Regions from separate parts of the Homo sapiens genome. Here regions 2, 3 and 4 are each linked to region 1. The links are contacts of gene promoters, found by promoter capture Hi-C in blood cells and fetal thymus (Javierre and others, 2016). All regions are on one chromosome and are shown on one strand. The core of a region is centred on a gene start or on the middle of the fragment in contact, and the rest is flanking DNA. Distances in the headings are between cores, read along the strand shown. Region 1 holds the start of EPCIP (exosomal polycystin 1 interacting protein). Region 2 holds the start of TMEM50B (transmembrane protein 50B). Region 3 overlaps TMEM50B (transmembrane protein 50B). Region 4 overlaps IFNGR2 (interferon gamma receptor 2).

The links. Contacts are between HindIII fragments. The CHiCAGO score rates a contact against its expected background, and 5 or more counts as called.
Region 2: the fragment with the promoter of TMEM50B here is called in contact with the fragment with the promoter of EPCIP in region 1 in 13 of 17 cell types (naive CD8 T cells, total CD4 T cells, non-activated CD4 T cells and 10 more); the score reaches 15.1 in naive CD8 T cells.
Region 3: a contact is called between a fragment that was not itself captured here and the fragment with the promoter of EPCIP in region 1, in 3 of 17 cell types (total CD4 T cells, monocytes and non-activated CD4 T cells). The highest score is 5.5, in total CD4 T cells.
Region 4: a contact is called between a fragment that was not itself captured here and the fragment with the promoter of EPCIP in region 1, in 2 of 17 cell types (non-activated CD4 T cells and fetal thymus). The highest score is 7.4, in non-activated CD4 T cells.

The regions. Positions count from the first base shown.
Region 1 is chr21:32,810,706-32,816,128 of GRCh38, forward strand. EPCIP (exosomal polycystin 1 interacting protein) reads right to left here and starts at 2,998. Exons shown (of 4, transcript NM_001162495.3): 1 at 2,887-2,998. The HindIII fragment of the contact is 1,895 bases long and covers 2,090-3,984 here.
Region 2 is chr21:33,476,989-33,482,411 of GRCh38, forward strand. TMEM50B (transmembrane protein 50B) reads right to left here and starts at 2,986. Exons shown (of 7, transcript NM_006134.7): 1 at 2,850-2,986. It also overlaps the pseudogene RPS5P3. The HindIII fragment of the contact is 5,416 bases long and covers 1-5,324 here.
Region 3 is chr21:33,453,146-33,458,568 of GRCh38, forward strand. It overlaps TMEM50B (transmembrane protein 50B), which reads right to left. Exons shown (of 7, transcript NM_006134.7): 6 at 2,582-2,639. Among named protein-coding and RNA genes, the nearest start is that of TMEM50B, 24 kb to the right of the region's middle. The HindIII fragment of the contact is 4,983 bases long and covers 1-4,804 here.
Region 4 is chr21:33,434,049-33,439,471 of GRCh38, forward strand. It overlaps IFNGR2 (interferon gamma receptor 2), which reads left to right. Exons shown (of 7, transcript NM_005534.4): 7 at 2,780-3,468. The coding sequence ends at 2,914. It also overlaps a transcript of TMEM50B not described here. Among named protein-coding and RNA genes, the nearest start is that of IFNGR2, 33 kb to the left of the region's middle. The HindIII fragment of the contact is 2,047 bases long and covers 1,029-3,075 here.

The DNA.
Region 1 (5,423 bases), core at 1,748-4,247:
TAGCTCCTGACTGCATCATGCTCACATGTCCCACATTGTATCTGATAGCTCTTTCTGAATGTCTAGTAGACATCTCCAACTTAACATGCCAAATACACAGCTCCTGATTCCCAAGAAAGTTCAGACTCCTATGAGAAATGTTACTGTACCAGTAATTCACTGTTCCTCAGCCCTGTGTTCCCAAGGCTAAGCTAGCTAAATACAGCAAATTGTCATTGATAAAGAGGCAACATACTATAATATATAAAATGTGATACATGTATGTTGTATACTGAAAATTGAATGAAATCAGGAACTATCCATATTTTTATTCACTAATAGTAAGATCTAATGAGTGTTTCTTTTGTGCCAGGTACTGTTAAGTGTTTCACGTGTTTTATGTTATTTAATCCTTTCTGTAATCCTACAGGTAGATATTATGGCCCCCCCTCCCCTTTTTTTTTTAGACCGAGTCTCAGTCTGTCACCCAGGCTGGAGTGCAGTGGCACTATCTCGGCTCACTGCAACCTCTGCATCCCGGATTCAAGTAATTCTCCTGCCTCAACCTCCCGAGTAGTTGGCATTATAGGTGTTGCACCACCACGCCCAGCTAATTTTTGTATTTTTAGTACAGACTGGGTTTCGCCATTTTGGCCAGGCTGGTCTCGAACTCCTGACCTCAAGTGATCCACCCACCACAGCCTCTCAAAGTGCTGGGGTTACAAGCATGAGCCACTGCATATGGTCCCATTTTCATATCAGGAAATGATACATGGGTACTCAGGGAGGTTAAATAACTTGTCCAAGGTCACAGAACTAGTTAATAATGGCTAAAATTTGAACCCAGACAGCCAACTATACTCTGAAGAGTCATGGTGGAAATTACAGCGCTATTTCCTACCCCAGGGTCTTGGGCCTATTCAAGTGAGATTCCATGCATTGTATTCTATTACTAGATGCTGTAGCCTTTAACCTATATGTGTATAGAACCCTCATGCTAAATGCTATGATTTGAATGTGTTTCCTAAAGTTCACGTGTTGGAAACTTAATCCCCAGTGCAACAGTGTTGAGAAGTGGGAGCTTTAAGGGGTGACCTTTAAGAGGGCGGTGCCCTCATGAATGGATTAATGCTGTTATTGAGGAGTGGGTTGGTCACCATGGGAATAGGTTTCAAATAAAAGGATGAATTTGACCCCCTTTCTCTCTGTCTCTCTTATGTGTGTGCACATGTTCTCTTGCCCTTTCACCTTCCACCATGGAATGAAACAGCAAGAATGCCCTTGCCAGATGCAGGCCCCTTGACCTTGGAATTCCCAGTCTCCAGAACCATAAGAAAGAAATTTCTGTTCTTAAGTTCATAATCAGAATAGAGGACAATATGAGCAGAGTGCTGCTTCTGCTAACATAGGTATGGAATGTGGGACAAAGAATTCTCAGAGAGTGAGCCACTGGGAAGTCCTAACTAAAATATGTGGCTACCGTACTTTTCTACTTGACACAGTCCTTGAGAGAGTGAATTAGGCAATGAGTGCAAATCCTTCAGGCTTTCCCCTTGAGTGACTTGGTAGACACTCAGTTAATTGCATCACTGGGGTTCACATCCACAGCTTTGCACAGCTGCCCCTTGGTCCCACGCCCACAGAACTGTGAGGCCTGCCTGTTCTTCCCACTGGGGCCTATTGACCTATTAGCTCCCACAGACACAGACACAAGCCACTGGGCACTGAATTTTAAAAGCTGATAATGTGGCAGCTTTAAGCAGTGAAAAATATTAGTGTGGAAAAGAAAGATGAGAAATCCAAGTCAGCTCTTGAAAAGCACTCATTTCCATAAATACTTTATTGAAACTGTTATTTTCAGAAAATGCCCAATTTCTGTCAGAAAAAAAAGTAATGAAAAGTCTTTTTTTTTCCTTCCAAACATATTGCATTATTTAGACTAAAAAAAAGCAAAAAACTTCTCAAGGATGGCTCTTTTCGGTAAAAAATTTTCAAACAAATGAAGTCTTTTTTTTGGTATTTTTTAAGGGTGGGTTTTTTATAAATATTATGCACAATGTTTTTGAAACATTTCCTGTCCTCAGTATACACCAACATACTTTTTGCTAAAAGCTTTCCAAAAATATGCTTATTAAACAAAGAAATAAATGCAAGACTGTATATGTTCTACTCATTTTGAATTAAAACATTCCCCTCTTCATCTTGCCTTTTGCTACATTATTTATCATGCTTTTTCACTTTTGAATAAAAGACCAATTTTTTAAAAACACGAACTATCCAATCCAAATGTTAATGCTCATCTTAGCTTACTTTCTTTTCTTTGTTTTCTAATCAGCAAACTCTATAAAGCCTGGTGTGTAAATAGGCAGTAAATATAATATTATTAAAAGATAAAACAGAGCAAAGAAACAGTATCAGCCGGTGTTTTGGGAGTTCTCACTTTTCTTTGTTTGTGATCACAATAAGGAAAAGAGATATCATATCTCTTTTCCTTAATTGTTATTTAGCATTGAAGACTAATGGAAAAGTCTAGCCAGATGTTTTAAAATAGAGACAAGATTTCAAGGAGCTATCTGTTATATTAGCTTTAAGTGAGTTTATCTTTTTAGGGTTTAAATGAGAAGACCATGTCATTCTTTGCTTAATGCACTGAAAATCTTTCATTTTAAAGGCAGAATCTCAGTAAAGAGGAATTCATATGCCTGGAAGCCTAAAAAAGTGTTTCATAGTGAAAGCCACTCATACATGTACATTATGTTCAGGAAATGCAAATGCAACAAGAAGGTGACCCTGACAATGGTTCTTCCAACCGTCACAGTTCCTGCCATGCAGCAGAAATTCTGAAGCTCTGAAAAACTGTCAGACTAGACATGCTTTTTAAAAAAGAAGAACACAGAAATTACTTACATCTGAGAGTTCCACCGTGAGGCCTCGCCTCTCCACTCCACAGACCTCTGCCTGGCCACGGATCCTTCACCCTGGCTTGACAGCTGGTTTAATCTGCAAGCCAGGGTGGAATGCGTGGTCTTGCACTTGCTGTTCTTTTCCGTCTTCGGAGGGCCAGCAGCCTGGTCATTTCCATGGCAACCAGGAGGAAGCTGCTGGCCTACCAGTCTCATTAACTACACGCAGGAGAGAACCTGCCTTGGTGACTGCTGACCACTCTTTTGGGGTTCTAAACTGGGAAGTTTCTAGAAGAAACTGAGGAGACTGTTGCTGTAGGCTGATCCCAAAGGATTGACACAAATGGAAGAAATTCTACTTTAGCAGGAAATTGAATGGATTAAATGTAGAGTACGGAGACTCCTTGATACTTTTACTTTCATGATTTATTCCACCTTTTTTGGTCTGATGAATTGTTACTTATGGTAAATGCCTGCACTACTGTATAAAGTGTCCTATCGTAGTTGTTCCAAAGAAAAAAAACTCATTTGAACTCCAAAGATAGACATTATTCTCTGTCTTTTTTAAAATTCATTTAAAAAAATATTAGAAGCCACAAAACCAATAAATAGGTAACAATTATTCTATGTACATTAACTGATAGTCCATGTGGGCTTCTATAACAAAATACCATTAGTTGGGTAACTTACAAACAACATATTTATTTCTGTAGGCTGGGAAGGCCAAGATCAAGGCAGATTTGTTTTCTGGTGAGGGTCTGCTTCCTGGTTCATAGATGGCACCTTCTAGCTGAGTCCTTACATGGTGGAAGGGAAACTGTGGTTTCTTCAGCTTCTTACAAGGGCACTAATCCCATTCATAAGGGCTCCACCCTCATGACCTAATCACATTCCAACATCTCCACCTCCTATGCTATCACATTAAGGATTAGGTTTCAATATATGTATTTTAAGGGAAGATAAATACCTGGGCCTTAACAACTGATGAAGTCTCACTAAATATGGGAAAAAAAGATAAGGCAGGGGTCCCCGATCTCCAGGCCACGGACTGGTACCAGTCCATGCTACAGTAGGAGTTGAGCAGTGGGTGAGCAAGAGAAGAAGCTTCATCTGTATTTACAGCCGCTCCCTATCAATCACATTACCACCTGAGCTCTGCCTTCTGTCAGATCAGCAGTGGCATTAGATTCTCATAGGATTGAATTGAGAATGCTATTCTATTGTGAACTATTGTGAACTGTGTATGCGAGGGATCTAGGTTGCATGCTCCATATGAGAATCTAATGCCTGATGATCTGTCACTGTCTCCCATCACCCCTAGATGGGACAGTCTAGTTGCAAGAAAACAAGCTCAGGGCTCTCACTGATTCTACATTATGGTGAGTGGTATAAGTATTTCATTATATATTATAATGCAATAATAATACAAAGTGCACAATAAATGTAATCGCTTGAATCATCCCCAAACCACCTCCTACCCCTGCCTGTCTGTGGAAAAATTATCTTCCATGAAACTGGTCTCTAGTGCCAAGAAGGGGACTGCTGAGATAAAGAAAAATCTTGCTAATTAAAAGCACTAGGAGTCTGGAGCAATTGATTTGTAATTACCCAGATACAGATTCTCCAATATGTTAAAGAAGAGAGCACCTCAGTAGGGAAATTTATTCATTCATTTATTTATTATTCATCTACTGAATCCTTACCACACACATGCACTGTGCCAGGAGATTTAAGGGGCACAGAGATCAATGTCATGGTTCTTGTCTTTAAGGAAGTTATACTATAGGAGGGGCAATTATGTAAGTTGCATCTGGGAAATGTTTGAAGGGAGATACAGACACAATGCAGGGGAATCCCAGTGAAGGTCGGCCTTTGCCAGGGAGACTGGTGAAGTCCTTGGGGAGAGGTAGTTTTGGATCTAGGCCTTAAGGGATGGCTGAGATCTGCATGGTCAGATGTGGGGGAAAGGACAACGATCTCTCATGGAGTGATTATTTGATGAACTGCGGATCCAAGCTGATGGATATATCCTTCCTCCTTTCTGCACCCAGAGAGCCTGGCACAAATGGCTTCTCGGTGGCCCACAGGATAAAGGAACTCAAGTAATTAAGAAAATTGCTGGAGCAAAGGTTTGGAGGTGGAAGAGTCCCAGGCCTATTCAGCCATTTGGAAAGCCAGTGAATCACAGCCAGAATAAAGGGAATTGAGAATAGAGAGAGGCTGCTATTGTTGGGTGATCAGTTTCAGCAAAGCACATATATGAATTCTACCATGTAAGAATAGCAAAGTGGATCTTGGTTCAAACCTTGAGTCTGTTACCTTCTTGCACATTATTTAAACTTTATAAGCCTCAGTTTCCTTATCTATAAAGTGGGTATAATAATACTTTGTTGAAAGGTAGAGCTGAGGAAAAAATGAGATAATATATGTGCACTGGATGCCTGAAGATGAGGGAGGGAAAGGCTGGCCAACAATACACCGAATACCCCAACTTTCCAGAGCAACTGTGGCTAATCCAATGGTTTGGCGTACTCAACCTCT
Region 2 (5,423 bases), core at 1,736-4,235, 670 kb after region 1:
CCATGCAACATTCTGAAAATGAGGCAAGTTGGCTGGGCAGGATGGCTCACACCTGTAATCCCAGCACTTTGAGAGGCTGAGGCAGGTGGATGGCTTGAGTTCAGGAATTCAAGACCAGCCTGGGCAATATGAGAAACCCGTCTCTACAAAAATTACAAAAATTAGGCATGGTGGCACTCGCCTATAGTCTCAGCTTCTCAGGAGGCTGAGGTGGGAGGATCGTTTGAGCCCAAGGCTGCAGCAAGCCGTGAGGGAACCACTGCACTCCAGCCTGGGCAACACAGTGAGACCCGGTCTCCAAAGTGAGGGGTGGGGTTGGGAGGAAATGAGGTAGGTCTCCACGTGCTTATGAAGGAAATGTGTCCTTATATTATCATCAGTTGCCGAGCAATATTATAATATAATACCCTCCTAGGGAATGGAATTGAGGATGTAAAGAGTGAACAAACAAGGAATTCTAACTTGACATACCTCTGCGCTGTCTGAATTTTACTTGATATTCTTCTGTCATGTTTAAATGTTTTAAACAACCTGAATGTTACTTTAATCATTTAAAAAGTAAAACGGGCTAGGTACGGTGGCTCACGTCTGTAATCCCAGCACTTTGGGAGGCCGAGGCGGGGGGGGGTTACCTGAGGTCAGGAGTTCGAGTCTCTACTAAAAATACAAAAATTAGCTGGGCGTGGCGGCGGGCGCCTGTAATCCCAGTTTACTTGGGAGGCTGAGACAGGAGAATCGTTTAAACCTGGGAGGCGGAGGTTGCAGTGAGCCACGATAGCGCCATTGCACTCCAGCCTGGGCAACAAGAGCAAAACTCGGCCTCAAAAATTATATATATATATACATAAGTTAAAAATAAACTTTAGGCCGGGCACAGTGGCTCACGCCTGTAATCCCAGCACTTTGGGAGGCTGAGGCAGGTGGATCACGAGGTCAGGAGATCGAGACCATCCTGGCTAACACGGTGAAAACCCGTCTTTACTAAAAATACAAAAAATTAGCCGGGCGTGGTGGTGGGCGCCTGTAGTCCCAACTACTAGGGAGGCTGAGGCAGGAGAATGGCGTGAACCCAGGACGTGGAGCTTGCAGTGAGCCGAGATCTTGCCACTGCACTCCAGCCTGGGAGACAGAGCAAGACTCTGTCTCAAAAAATAAATAAATAAATAAATTTAAAAATAATAATAATACACTTTAAAAGGCCAGGCGCGGTGCCCACACCTGTAATCCCAGTACTTTCAGAGACCGAGGCAAGCGGATCACTTGAGGTCAGGAGTTCAAGACCAGCCTGGCCAACATGGTGAAACTCTCTCTCTACTAAGAATATAAAAATTAGCCAGGCATGGTGGCAGGCGCCTGTGATCCCAGCTACTCGGGAGGCTGAGGCTGTAAAATCCCTTTAACCCTAGAGGTGCAGGCTGCAGTGAGCAGAGATCGGGCCACTGTACTTGTAGCCTGGTCAACGAGGGAGACTCTGTCTCAAAAAAAACAGAAAAGGAAAATGAGGATAAAATACGATAAATTCTTTACCTTGGCCCCCAGAAGTGAATTCAGAATTCAGAAAAGACTAGCCAGTGTAAGGCTGCTGTAACCCTAGTTGACAGAGAGGAGGGATTGGGGTGGTGAGTGGGAAGGCTGTGTCTCCGGAAGAAGAAATATACGTCCCCACCTCACTCTAATTAAACCTGCTTTTCCAGCGCGATAAATATTCAAGATAACTTTTGGTTTGCATTTCAATAACAAAGTCTTGCACCACTATCTTCAGTTTAAAAAAAAAGTTTAATGTTTGCTCTACGTTTGAAATGCATGCAGGTTTAAAAGACAAGAAACAAAATGATGAAAAAGTGTGACCGGCCTGAGAGTTCAGAGCCTCTGAAGTGTCAAGGGATCCACAGTGCAGGTAGGATGAAGAGTCTGAGAAGGGAGATGGGATCCTCCGAAAAGAGAAAATCGGGTCTTACAGCGCGATGTAAGACGATGCGGATGCCACTTCCCTCCCACCCCGTCCCGTCCGAGGCCTCCGCCCCCTGCCCCTCCGCACCCCCCGACCCAGGCACGCGCAGCGGGGAGCAGCCCAGCCTAGCCCGTCTCACTGCTTTGGTTTTGAAAGGTCACGTATTTACCTTAGAATTTCAGCACCTTCCAACTTACTGTTTTAAGTACCTTTAACCAGCCTATTGGCTAAAAACCGAAACGGTCCTACCCGCGACTACCACTGCTCCAGTGACAATGCTCTGCTGCTACTTATTTAACGGAGCTCAAGGTTTATAATTCTCGAAAGAATGTTGTTCCCCTTCCCTTTCCCCTCCCGCCTCTGTACTTGACTCTCGTAAGAATGAAATCAGAAAAGTGCAGAAAACACAGGCTCCTAGCAATGGTTCGGGGCAAACGGGAGGGGCGAAGAAGGGCTGGAGCCGCCCCGGGGCCCTCGCTCCGGCCTCGGGAGGGCGTCGCGGCCGCAGCAGGGCGTCCCGAAAACCGTCGCCTCCGTGCCCGCCGCGCGAGAAGGTGAAAGGCACGAGATGGAGCCTCTCCAGCCCTCCCCAGGAACGCAACCTGACGGCGTGACAGCGCGGCAGGGCAGCCTCCCCGGGCTGCTTGCGGGTCGCGGCGGCGCCACGGTCACGGTCGGCCCGAAGGGACGCGGGCAGGGGCAAGAAGGGGCGGCGGGGGCTCCGCGGGCCCGAGTCTGCAGGCCGGCGCCGAACGCAGGGAAAACCCGGCTGGACGGCCCCACAGCCCCCAGAAGGCCGGGCCGGACAGGGCCCGACGAGGGAGCCTCCTTACGCGCGGGCGGCGGGCGCGAGCCCTCTACGGTTGCCTGGCGCCGGAGACCCACAGACAGGACTCACCCAGCTTCCTCAAACGCCCACGCCGACTTCAGGCGCGCGCGCAGGAAGGAGACTGCTGCGCCACAACCCTGCCGGCGTCCCGCGGCTCCACCTCAGCCCCGGGAGCCCGGAGCTGGGAGCAGACGCGAGGATAGAGCGCCGGTGAGGCGGGGCGAGGCGCCGTGTGCACCGCAGCGACCAATCGGAGCGCAGCAAGTGGCCGGCCGGGGGCGGGGCGGGACGCGAGGGGGCGGGGAGAGGGCGTTGGCTGGGCGCAGCGGGACGCCGGGCGCTCCTCGCGACCAATCGGCGTGCAGCAAGTGGCCGGCCGGGGGCAGGGCGAGCTCCGAGGGACGGGGTGGGCTGCTCTGCAGGCCTCCCGGAGCCGGAGTTCAGACCCAGCTATCTACGGTTCCGGGCAGAGCGGGACGGGCCTCTCCTGTCCCCTGCCGGTGGGCGGCCGCCGCCGGGCTCCCACTGCTGCGTTTCTGCACGCTGACTTGAAGTGCAGTACCGTGAGATTACGTGCGGACGGAGCTCGAGACCCGGGGGACCAGGGTTTCCCTTCGCCTATGGCCGATCAGTCTTGTCTGTCTGCGAGCTGCCCAGAGTAGGGAAGGTGCTCCGGGAGGGTTCTCGGGAACGGAGGGTCTTTAGAGATGCCTTTTTCTAATCCCCTCAATTCAGAAATGGAGCCCCAGAAAGTTGAAGTTAGTAAACCAGGGCTACCCAGCGAGTGCTGGTTACCCGAGGTGATCCTCACAATACAACTAGTCTTCTGATTTCGCTCGGCGCTCTCCCGTCTATTCACGTAGATTTTTGTCTTTTTTTTTTTTTTTCGTCTTTCTTATAGTCAGATATCTTTCAGCCTCTTGGATTTTCAACATAACTTTAACAGCGTTTGGAAGCCCCGTCTAAATTTCCTACAGAAATGCCTATAACCATTTAGTTGTTTGGGGGAAAGTCGAGCTTTGTTTTTTGGGTGGTTTGTTTGTTTGTTTTGAGACAGGGTCTTGCTCTGTTGTCCAGGGTGGAGTGCAGTGGTGTGATCTTGGCTCACTGCAGCCTCTTACCTCCCACGCTCAATCAATCCTCCCACCTCAGCCTTCCGAGTAGCTGGGATTACAGGTGCGCACCACCATGCTTGGCTAATTTGTGTATTTTTAGTAGAGACGGGATTTCACCTGGCTGATCCTGAACTCCTGACCTCAGGTGATCCACCCGCCTCTGCCTCCCAAAATGCTGGGATTACAAGCGTGGGCCACTGTGCCCAGCCAAGTAGAGTTATTATCAGTGGAAATCTAAAAAGCATTTTACTTGAGGCATAATGAAGTAAAAGGTTTTGTATCATGGAATTATCACCAAAAATGCCATCCTGGATAATGTTCTCCTATAGCTCTTATACATGGGCTAGGATCTAGGTGTTCAATAAATATGTGCTGAATAATTTACTTTTGAAATATGTCACAATGCTGGCATTCCACCAGAAGAGAGGATACAGAAGGGAACACTCTCCTCTCTTTAAGAACCTTTTGAAAGGGGCGGGGGTTGCATGTACCATTTTTGTTTTCATTCTGCTAGTAAAATAGTCACTTGACTACACCAAATTGCAAAGAAGGCTGGAAAATGGGGTTTCAGTACTAAGGAAGGAAAACTAGATATTAGGGGACAATTAGAAGTTTCCAAATCTCATCACTTTTTTTGGGGGGGTGGGGGAGGCATCCCAAAGGGCAGACTGGTTTATTAGGCAGCAGCCAGGAAAATCAGCGGTTGGACTTGTCCCCACACTCCAGCTCATCCTTCTTGTTGATGGCATAGGAGCTGGAGGAGGCCTTGGTGGCATTGATGAGCTCATCCGCCAGGCACTCAGCAATGGTCTTGATGTTCCAGAAGGCAGCCTCACGAGTGCCTGTGCACAGCAGCCAGACGACCTGATTCACACAGTGCAGTGGGGACATGTCCACAGCCTGTTGTCTCACAGTCCCTGCTCGCCCAATGCATGTGGAGTCCTCCCAGGGACCACTGTTGATGATGGCGTTCACCAGGACCTGGAGAGGGTTCTCGCCTGTGAGCAGGTGGATGAAATCGAAGGCATGCTTGATGATGCACATGATCATGAGCTTGTTGCTGTTGTTGCAGCCGTGCATCATCATGGAGTTAGTGAGGGGCTCCACAATGGGGCACTGAGCTTTGCGGAAGCATTTGGCTGCATACCACCCAGCACTGTGAGGCAGGTACTTGGCATACTTCTCCTTCACTGCAGTGTAATCCTGCAGGGAAATGCCATTGATCTGCATATCATCAGTGCTCCACTTCCCAGAGAGCTTGATGTCAAGGGGTCTCTGCCACTGCTGGTGCTGCTGTCTCCCACTCGGTCATCCTGAGGGCACAGCCTGAGTGTCTCTGTCGATCAGCATGGACCACATGCTGCCCTGGCACAGACAGGCCATTGCTTTTTAAAGTACTAATATTTTAAGGTTTCCCAGGATTTTTTTAAGCTTTGTTACAGAATAATATCTGTAGAAAAATGATTACCTCCATATATGAAGGAAGACATTACTGTTCACCTACCGTTGGGATGCACATGCTTTAAGT
Region 3 (5,423 bases), core at 1,063-3,562, 640 kb after region 1:
ATGGTGTGATCTCAGCTCACTGCAACCTCAGCCTCCCGGGTTCAAGTGATTCTCTGGCCTCAGCCTTCCGAGTAGCTGGGATTCCAGGCATGCACCACCATGCCCAGCTAATGTCTGTATTTTTAGTAGAGATGAGGTTTCACCATGTTGGCCAGGCTGGTCTCGAACTCCTGACCTCAAGTGATCCACCCGCCTTGGCCTCCCAAAGTGTTGAGATTACAGGTGTGAGCCACCATGCCCAGCCGAGATTAATTTTAAAATGTAACAATAGAAACTATCCAAACTGAAACACAAACAGGAAAAAAAAATCTGACCATTAGCAAGCTGTGAGACAACTTCGAGCAGCCTATTATAACCTGTAATTGAAATCCCAGAGGGAGGGTGCAGTGGATACAAAAAATGCTTGAAGAAATAATGGCTGAGAAGAATCTAGATTTATTGATGAACTATAAACCTATAGATCCAAGAAACTCAATATACACCAAGCAGAAGGAATATCAAGAAAACTAGACCACAGTACATCGTAATCAAATTACTTAAAACCAGTGACAAAAGCAAAGTTTTTCAAGGCTTAGAAGTTACTTAATGATTTATGGGGGATGGGGACAGAGGCAGATAAAATTTTATAAATATATACCTAAATATCCTATGTTGACATTAAAAGACATTCATTCTAGGCTGGGCATGGTGGCTCACACCTGTAATCCTACCACTTTGGGAGGCTGAGGTGGGCAGATCACTTGAGGTCAGGAGTTCGAGACCGGCCTGGTCAACATGGCAAAACCCCATCTCTACTAAAAATACAAAAATTAGCTGGGTGTGGCAGTGCATGCCTGTAATCCCAGCTACTTGGGAGGCTGAGGCACGGAATTGCTTGAGCCTGGGAGGCAGAGGTTGCATTGAGCTGAGATTGCACCACTGCACATCAGCCTGGGCAACAGAGCGAGAATCCAGCTCAAAAAAAAAAAAAAAAAAGACATTCATTCTAAAAAGCATAGAATGGACTTCATTTTGGGGATATTTTAGAAGACTGCCCCTAAAAAATACTTTTAATATTGGTTTATTTTTCCACTTACTTTAACTTTTCTTAAAAGGGCATTCAGAAAACAGAATTTCCCAACAGGTTTTGTATATAATATGCATACTATGTATTAATTATTATTATTATTTTGATATGGAGTCTTGCTCTGTCACCCAAGCTGAAATGCAGTGGCACTATCTCGACTCACTCCAACCCCCGTGTCTCCTGGGTTCAAGTGGTTCTCCTGCCTCAGCCTTCCGAGTAGCTGGGATTACAGGCACACACCACCATGCCCGACTAATGTTTGTATTTTTATTAGAGATGGGGTTTCACCATGTTGGCCAGGCTGGTCTCGAACCCCTGACCTCAGATGATCCACCCACTTCAGCCTCCCAAAGTGCTGGGATTACAGACATGAGCCACCACACCTGGCTGGCCACTAGGTATTAATTCTGGTTTTTCCTTTTTTCTTCATAAAGGTACTTTACCTGTTGTTGTTAATTTTTTTTTTCCCGAAAGGCTAGTCAAGTGAAACAATGGGTCTGATAGGGTTTTTTAATAAGACACAGGCTATGGAAGCAGCAGTCTGGATTCAAATCCAGGCTTCTCATTTACTAGCTAGGCATCCTAAAGCAAGCCCTAAACTTTATTTCCTCATCTATAAAATGGGAATAACACTGGGTGTGGTGGCTATAATCCCAGCACTTTGGGAGGCCGAGGCAGGCAAATTGTCTGAGCTCAGGAGTTCGAGACCACTCTGGGCAATATGGTGAAACCTCGTCTCTACTAAAATACAAAAAATTAGCTGGGTGTGGTGGTGTGCACCTGTAGTCCCACCTACTCGGGAGGCTGAGGCATGGGAATCGCCTGAGTCCCGAGGCGGAGGCTGCAGTGAGCCGAGATTGTTCCACTGCACTAAGGCAGCTTGGGCTACAGGGTGAGACTCCCTCGCAAAAAATAAATAAATAAATAAAAATAAAAATAAATAAAATGGGAATAACACCTGACATATATTTAAAATAATTAAATGCATTATTTTATTTTATTTTGGTCTCACTCTATTGCCCAGGCTGGAGTACAGTGGTGCAGCCTTGCCTCACTGCAGCCTCAACCTCCTCGGCTCAAGCAATCCTCCCACCTCAGCCTCTTGAGTAGCTGGCACTGTACACCACCACAACCAGATAATTTTTATATTTTTTTATAGAGACAGGGTTTTGCCATGTTGCCCAGGCTGGTCTTAAACTCCTAGACTTAAGCAATCCACCCACTTCAGCCTCCCAAAGTGCTGGGATTACAGGCATGAGCCACAGCACTTGGCCTAAATGTGAATTCAAAGGGTAAAATATATAAAGGATCCAGCTAAAGTCTTGATACACAGCAAGACCTCTAGTTAAAAGGCCTCTCTGCTCTTATGTAACAGTGGAATTCTCACCTTTTAAAAGAAGTTCTATCATTGTAACCAATCCATGGGATTTATATGTGTTCCATATATATGCTGCCTTAATTAAGTTGACATTTCTGTAAATGTTACAGGCGTGGTTAAAAAATAAGGCAACTTACCTAAAAAATATAAGTGCATTTTGAAAAAACACAGCTAGTCCCGGATAAACATCAGTATCTACATACACAAAGTAAAACAGATTAGACGGTTATATAGGCAAACGGCAGTAATAAAGTATCAGTGCCATTCATAATGATACATTTTGTATATTACAACATACTGCTATTATTCATTAACTGTAAGACATCTATAATGAAACTGAAAGAAGAAAATGCCAATTTAATTCCCCCAAAGCAAAGGACTGCTCTTACTCTGGATAAAAGTCAATGAACTTACAAAGTTTTCTTTTAGTCAAAGTAATTGCTGGTTCTAGCTACATCAAAACTGCTGAGGAAGCAGTAACTTGCTCCTTTGCCTCCTATGGCCAACACTGAAATGCAAAATCGTAAAAACATACAAAATAAATTCTTGACTTTTAAACAGTCTGTTAATTTATTTTCTTTCATGAATTCAAGAGGTTTTTTGTGTTTGTTTTTAAAGAAATGGGGCCTCACTATATTGCCCAGACTGGAGTGCAGCAGCTACTGACAGGCACAATCATAGCAAACTACAGCCCAAACTCCTGGGCTCAAGTGATCCTCCTGCCTCAGCGTCCCAAGTGGATGGGACTACAGGCACACACCACAATGCCTGGCTCTCAATCCAGGAGTTTTATCATGCAAATATGTCAGATATAAATAACACAGTTAGAATTTATCATTCTCTTTCACTGAATCTATCCTGGAGGAAATGGTTACTATCTTTATAGGAAAAGAAAAGAAACAAAATGGAAACTACTTAAATTTTTGTGGATTATTAACTTTTGTAAAACTACAAATGTTGATTTAAAAAATACTGGAGAAGATGAAGAAACTGGTTCAATTCTGAGCTCTTGATATCATAGCAAACAATACAGCAGCATGGTTAAGAGCTCCAAGTTTGAGCCAGACCCAGGTTTGAATCCTATCTATACCAATGACTAACTGTATGACCTTGGGCAAATTATTTAACCTCAGCATATCTTCATTTCCTCACCTGTAAAACGGGCATTGTAATAGCACCTACTCCAGAGTGTAAGAATTAGATGAGTGACTCTATATAGTGCTTAGAACAGTATCTAGCCTATAAAGTAATATATAAAAGTTAGCTATTACTATGAATATTAATAGTTCAAGCAAATCTGTACAGTAAAAGATTTGAAACATGGCCTAGAAATGCTCTCTGAAATAAAGTCATATTCACTTTACAAATAGAAAAGTATATTTAGGCTGGGTGTGGTGACTCACGCTTGTAATCCCAGCACTTTGGGGGGCCGAGGCGGGTAGATCACTTGAGGTCAGGAGTTTGAGACCAGCCTGGCCAACATGGGGAAACCCTGTCTCTACTAAAAATACAAAATTAGCCAAGTGTGGTGGTGGATGGCTGTAATCCCAGCTACTTGGGAGATTGAGACAGGAGAATCACTTGAACCCAGGAGGCAGAGGTTGCCGTGGGCCAAGACTATACCACTGCACTCTAGCCTGGACGACAGGGCGAAACTCCATCTTAAAAAAAAAAGAAAAGTATATTTAAATGAGTAATGCTGTTGAAATAGAAAGATGAAATTCACAATCAAGAAATTTATCAATATTTACTAGTTCTTTAAATATTAAGATACAATTGGCTGGGAGCGGTGGTTCATGCCTGTAATCCCAACACTTTGGGAGGCCAAGGTGGGTAGATCGTCTGAGATCAGGACTTCAAGACCAGCTTGGCCAACATGGTGAAACCCTGTCTCTACTAAAAATACAAAAAATTAGCTGGGAGTCGTGGCAGGCGGCTATAATCCCAGCTATTCGGGAAGCTGAGGCAGGAGAATCGCTTGAACCCGGGAGGCAGAGGTTGCAGTGAGCCGAGACTGTGCCATTGCACTCCAGCCTGGGCGACAAGAGTGAAACTCCAACTCAAAAAAAAAAAAAAAAATACACTCAACAATAGTAAAGCCTTTACAAACAATATTTCCCTACATACCTTACAGAAATGGCAATTTATCCCTATTTTCACTATAGAAACTGTAAAGCTCATGGATCACTTCAACTGCTAAAGTAAATAAGCAGGAAGCCATTAACCTGAGGCTATCTCCCTACTCTGAGTTCCTGTGTGACCCCAACCCACCCCCCGGAACCTAACTTACGTAAACGAACTGAAACCTAGGGTTATATTTTTTAATAAATAGCTGAATTTTAGTCAATCACAAACGGCTAAGCTTTAGCCAATCCCAAGCAGCCAACTGATGAGACCATGCACAAATAAGACAAACATATAGCTACAGACAATCTAAAAATTTCTTGTCTTTGCCTTGTGTTCAGCCTACAGCTGCTCATGCTGCTGGGTGAAGCTCTCCGAACCTCTTCTTGGTTTGCTCAAATTGCTAATTTATCTAAAGTTTTTCTTTAACATAACTATGGAGACCTTTTAAGAAAATCAGTGACAGCAGCCCACCCTTCTTACAGTCAGGGATAAAATGAGTTTAAAACACACTTTCCGGCTGGGCACAGTGGCTCACGCCTGTAATACCAGCACTTTGGGAGGCTGAGGTGGGTGGATCACCTGAGGTCAGGAATTCGAGACCAGCCTGACCAATATGGTGAAACCCCATCTCTACTAAAAATACAAAAATTATCTGGGCGTGGTGGCATGCACCTGCAGTCCCAGCTACTTAGGAGGCTGAGAAAGGAGAATTGCTTGAACCTGGGAGGCAGAGGTTGCAGTGAGCCGAGATCACGCCACTGCACTCCAGCCTGGGCGACAGAGCAAGGTTCTGTCTCAAAAAAACACTTTCCTATAAGATTCCATGTGTATGAAATAGATACAGACAGAAAG
Region 4 (5,423 bases), core at 802-3,301, 620 kb after region 1:
CCAGTGGGTATTGCTAATATTTGAAAGGACTTGAGAAAGAACAGTAGCGTGGGTCTTGTGGAAAGTCTTATTTTCCTGCATAACCCCAGCCCCCTGAGGCTCTGTGAGGCCATTGGGCCTTCTGAGGACACGGTCAGGACATTTTGGGGATCAGAGGCGAGCTGAGAGAAGAACATTTAAAAAGCATTTGCAGCCGGGCGCAGTGACCCACACCTGTAATCCCAGGACTTGGGGAGGCCAGGGTGGGCAGATCACCTGAGGTCAGGAGTTCGAGACCAGCCTGGCCAACATGGTGAAACCCTGTCTCTACCAAAAATACAAAAATTAGCCGGGCGTGGTGGTGGGCGCCTGTAATCCCAGCTACATGAGAGGCTGAGGCAGGAGAATTGCTTGAACCCAGGAGGTGGAAGTTACAGTAAGCCAATATCGCACCATAGCACTTTAGCTTGGGTGGCAGAGCAAGACTCCATCTCAAAAAAATAAAATAAATAAAAAGCATTTGCTTCTGGAGGCTTCACATTATTCTTGGGTAAACCTAGAGTAAAGGTGTTGGAAGCAGAATGTTACTCAGTTACATGTGGGATGAACAGAGGTTAGATAAGGTCCAAGTCTGCAGAAACATAGCAGCACTTTCAGAAAGAACCCTAGTCACTTGTTCCTTCATCTGCCATGATGTATTGTAGGTACACAGGCAGTATACAGATTCCCTACTAGAACCTCCCTGGTTAATATTGTCACAAAATCACAGCTCCTAACAGGTCTCAGAATCTTACTTGCAGTAATAATCTCTCTCTCTCCTGGTAGAACTACCAGCTGAGCCCCAGTACATGAATATACTATGAGTCATTCCTCTGAGACATGAACAGAAAACACAGGCCTGTCAGTTCACTTTTCTAGGAAAGCATAAAGAACATCCGCCAAAGGTCTCTGAGTTACATGGGAACAGTGAATCATGTTTCACTTATAATTCTGGGGTTTCACAAGGGTACATGTTTTGGTTTTGTTCCTCTTTCAGTCAGTCAGCTACAAGCTTATTGTCTTCCAGTATCTTTCAGCATTTCCAAGAGCTAGACACTAGATTCTTGGTAACTTGGTGAATCTATGGCTAAGCCTAAAGCCTGCGGGAGCAAAAGGGAAATTAATCGCTGGGAAACACCCCTTTATATGTTAAGGCCTAAGGCCCTCGCTCCCAGATTCTCTGCTTGCTGTGCGCTGGTGCAAGGGGAGGGGTGGAGGAGTGCCTGAGACCAATGCTTGTGAACTTGCCCTCTTTTTCCCCATCACAGCTGAACAAGAGCCCCCAGTCCCTCCTTCACTGAAAGGTTACAATTTTAGAGACGTCTTAAGATTAATAACCCACAGGCCTACACTGAGGGTTGCAAGGAAGAACTTGCTTTTCTTCCAATCAGAAAATCAGAAGAAAAAAACAAAACTTGCTTTTCCTGAGTTTTGCCCTTTTAAACTCTCAGCATATTAACATGGTCAGCCCTGGGATGAGTATTAAAGTGATTACTGAGATGAGGGGTAAGGAGTATTCAACTATTAGAAGTTGTTGGCTGGGTGAGGTGGCTCATGCCTGTAATCCCAGCACTTTGAGAGGCCGAGGTGGGTGGATCATGAAGTCAGGAGATCGAGACCATCCTGGCCAACAGGGTGAAACCCTGTCTCTACTAAAAATACAAAAATTACCCAGGCATGGTGGCATGCGCCTGTAGTCCCAGCTACTTGGGAGGCTGAGGCAGGAGAATCACTTGAACCCAGGAGGCGGAGGCTGCAGTGAGCTGAGATCCACGCCACTGCACTCCAGCCTGGCAACAGAGCAAGACTCCGTCTCAAAAAAAAAAAAAAAAAAAAAAAAATTAGCCAGCCGTGGTGGTGCACGCCTGCAATCCTAGCTACTTGGTTGGGAAGCTGAGGCAGGAGAATTGCTTGAACCCAGGAGGCGGAAGTTGCAGTGAGCCGAGATCGCGCCACTGCACTCCAGCCTGGGCGAAAAAGAGACTGACTCAACAACAATAAAAAATTGTTGCCGGGTGCAGTGGCTCACACCTGCAATCCCAGCACTTTGGGAGGCCGAGGCGGGCGGATCACCTGAGGTCAGGAGTTCGAGACAGCCTGACCAACATGGGAAACCCCGTCTCTACTTAAAATACAAAATTAGCAGGGTGTGGTGGTGCATGCCTGTAATCCCAGCTACTTGGGAGGCTGAGGCAGAGGTTGCAGTGAGATGAGATCGTGTCATTGCACTCCAGCCTGGGCAACAACGTGAAACTCCGTCTCAAAAAAAAAAAATTGTTTCATTGTTGAATAAAAAGAAAAATAAGTTATGTCATTGGTGGACAGAATCAACTTATATCTGAATAAAATAACTATACCAATTAAAACTAAAGTAGGCCAGGCGTAGTGGCTCACGCCTATAATCCCAGCACTTTGGGAGGCCAAGGTGGGTGGATCATTTGCGATCAGGAGTTTGAGACCAGCGTGGCCAACATAGTGAAACCCTGTCTCTACTAAAAATACAAAATTAGCCAGGCAAGGTGGTGGGCACCTGTAGTCCCAGCTACTTGGAGGATTGAGGCAGGAGAATCGCTTGAACCTGGGAAGCAGAGGTTGCAGTGAGCTGAGATCACACCACTATACTCCAGCCTAGGCAAGAGTAAGACTCCATCTCAAAAAAAAAATAAAAATAAAAATAAAATAAAAACAAAAACTAAAGTTAAAAGGTCTGGTATACTGAACTGGTAAACTAATTACAATTTTGCTTTCCAACCTCCTCAAGTATTTAAAAGACCCAACTCAGCCCATCTTAGAGGCCTTGGACAAGGACAGCTCACCAAAGGATGACGTCTGGGACTCTGTGTCCATTATCTCGTTTCCGGAAAAGGAGCAAGAAGATGTTCTCCAAACGCTTTGAACCAAAGCATGGGCCTAGCCCACTGGCTCCCTGGAAGAGATCAAGCCATCGGAGCTGCTAGAGTTCTGTCTGGACTTTCCAGAGACCAGTATTCCCTTTTGCTGCCTCTAAAAGGCCTGTCCCTGCAGACATGAGAGACAGCAGGTCTCATGGGGGTGACAAGCTTTTTTTTTTTTTCTTAAAGAATTTTCAAAATCAAATTCCAGAATGATTTTACGGAGATATCCCAGGAAAATTAAGGCTTCTCTTAAACACTAAAAAGGCATGTAATTGCTTGTTAGCAAAATGGATATGACACATCTCTGATACTTTTTTCATTATTGGTTGGGCTGAGCAGTCAGAAGACCTGGTCGTCGTCTTGACTTTGGCAAATGAGCCGGAGCCCCTTGGGCAGGTCACACAACCTGTCCCAGCGAGGGACACCGAGTGGCCCTTCATGTACATCCATGGTGTGCTGGCTTAAAATGTAATTAATCTTGTAAATATACTCCTAGTAATTTAAGATTTTGTTTTTAAACTGGAAATAAAAGATTGTATAGTGCATGTTTTTTAAAGTCTATGTGAAGTGTTTTCTTTATTGTAGCCTATTTTCTGCAGAGTTTCAGCTTTCTAAAATTACTCAATCTAAACTTGTTTTTTCTTAAATAACACCTGCTAGAGCTACTGAGGCCTCATGGGAACTCAGCAAACACTTCCTATGGATGTCACTTGATCCTCCAAAGGTTATAAAGAAGGCCAGGGCCTAGTGCAGTGGCCCACGCCTATAATCCCAGCACTTTGGGAGGCTGAGGTGGGTGGATCACTTGAGGCCAGGAGTTCTAGACCCACCTGGGCAACATGGTGAAACCCTGTCTCTATGAAAAATGCAAAAATTATCCAGGCATGATGACATGCACCTGTAGTCCCAGCTACTTGAGAGGCTAAAGTGGGAGGATGCTTTAGCCTGGGAGGCGGAGGTTACCATGAGCCGAAATGATGCCACTGCACTCCAGCGTGGGAGGCAGAGCGAGACCCTATCTCAAAAAAAAAAAAAAAAAGAGGGCTGGGCATGGTGGCTCATGCCTGTAATCCCAGCACTTTGGGAGGTCAAGATGGGAGGATCGCTTGAGGCCAGGAGTTTGAGAACAGCCTGGGCAACATAGTGAGACCTTGTTTTCACAAAAAATAAAAAATTAGCTAGTCGTGGTGGTGCACACCCGTAGTCCCAGCTACTCAGGAGGCTGAGACCAGAGGATCATTTGAGCCTAGGAGTTAGGAGTTCAAGGCTGCAGTGAGCAATGATTACACCACTACATTCCAGCCTTGGCAACAGAGCAAGAGACCCTGTCTCAAAAATATAAAAGTTATAAGGGGGATTTGCAGAAGGCACATTAGCACTTCATTTATATGTGACAAGTCACACTGTGTTGACCAAGGCAGGGATTTGTGGGCAATAAAGAGAATTAACTGATTAATCAATAGTAATGTTATCTACTGAGCACGCAAGTCATCTGATTGTGTCAGTACTGTCGGGCTCTGTTGTTCAAAGGATATGTATTTAAAATCCATTTATAGGCTGGGCACGGTGGCTCACACCTGTAATCCCAGCACTTTGGGAGGCCGAGGCAGGCAGATCACCTGAGGTCAGGAGTTCGAGACCAGCCTGGCCAACATGGTGAAAGCCTGTCTCCACTAAAAGCACAAAAATTAGCTGAGTGTGGTGGCAGGCACCTATAATCCCAGCTACATGGGAGGCAGTTGGGGCCCTGTACTGCTGGTAAGAAAGTGGCTTTTTTTTTTTCTTTTGAGACAGAGTCTCACTCTGTCGCCCAGGCTGGAGCGCAGTGGCGCGATCTCAGCTCGCTGCAACCTCCACCTCCCAGGTTCAAGCAATTCTCCTGCCTCAGCCTCCCGAATAGCTGGGATTACAGGCGTGCACCACTATGCCTGGCTAATTTTTGTATTTTTAGTAGAGATGGGGTTTCACCATGTTGGCCAGGCTGGTCTCGAACTCCTGACCTCATGATCCACCCACCTTGGTCTCCCAAAGGGTTGAGATCACAGGCGTGAGCCACCGTGTCCGGCAAAAGTGGCTAACTCTCTTAAGTGTTGTGTACCATGCTGTCTGCAGTGGCAAGAGTTAGAAAAACAAGGCCCACTCCCACCCCATGCACACAAGTCTCCCTGTGAAGCATCTGTTGTATGCATTAGGTGCACCTTAAGTAGACAAGTTTGGAGGAAGAAGTTGTAGATAGGAGTTGTAAAGACTTACCTTAGACCGTTCAGGAAATCGGAGACAGAAGAGCTTCTTCTGTTGGGCAGCAGGATGGTGGCCAGCGAGGAGTGGAGGATACATCTATAGCAGGAGAACAGGAAAGAGTTTCAGCCCAGCAGGACAGAGGGCAAATCAACTCTGTTAGGGTAAGTGCATCTGTGCCACCCCATTTATTTATTTAGAGACACAGTCTCACCCTGTTGCCCAGGCTGGAGCGCAGTGGCACAATCTCACTTCACTGCAACCTCTGCCTTC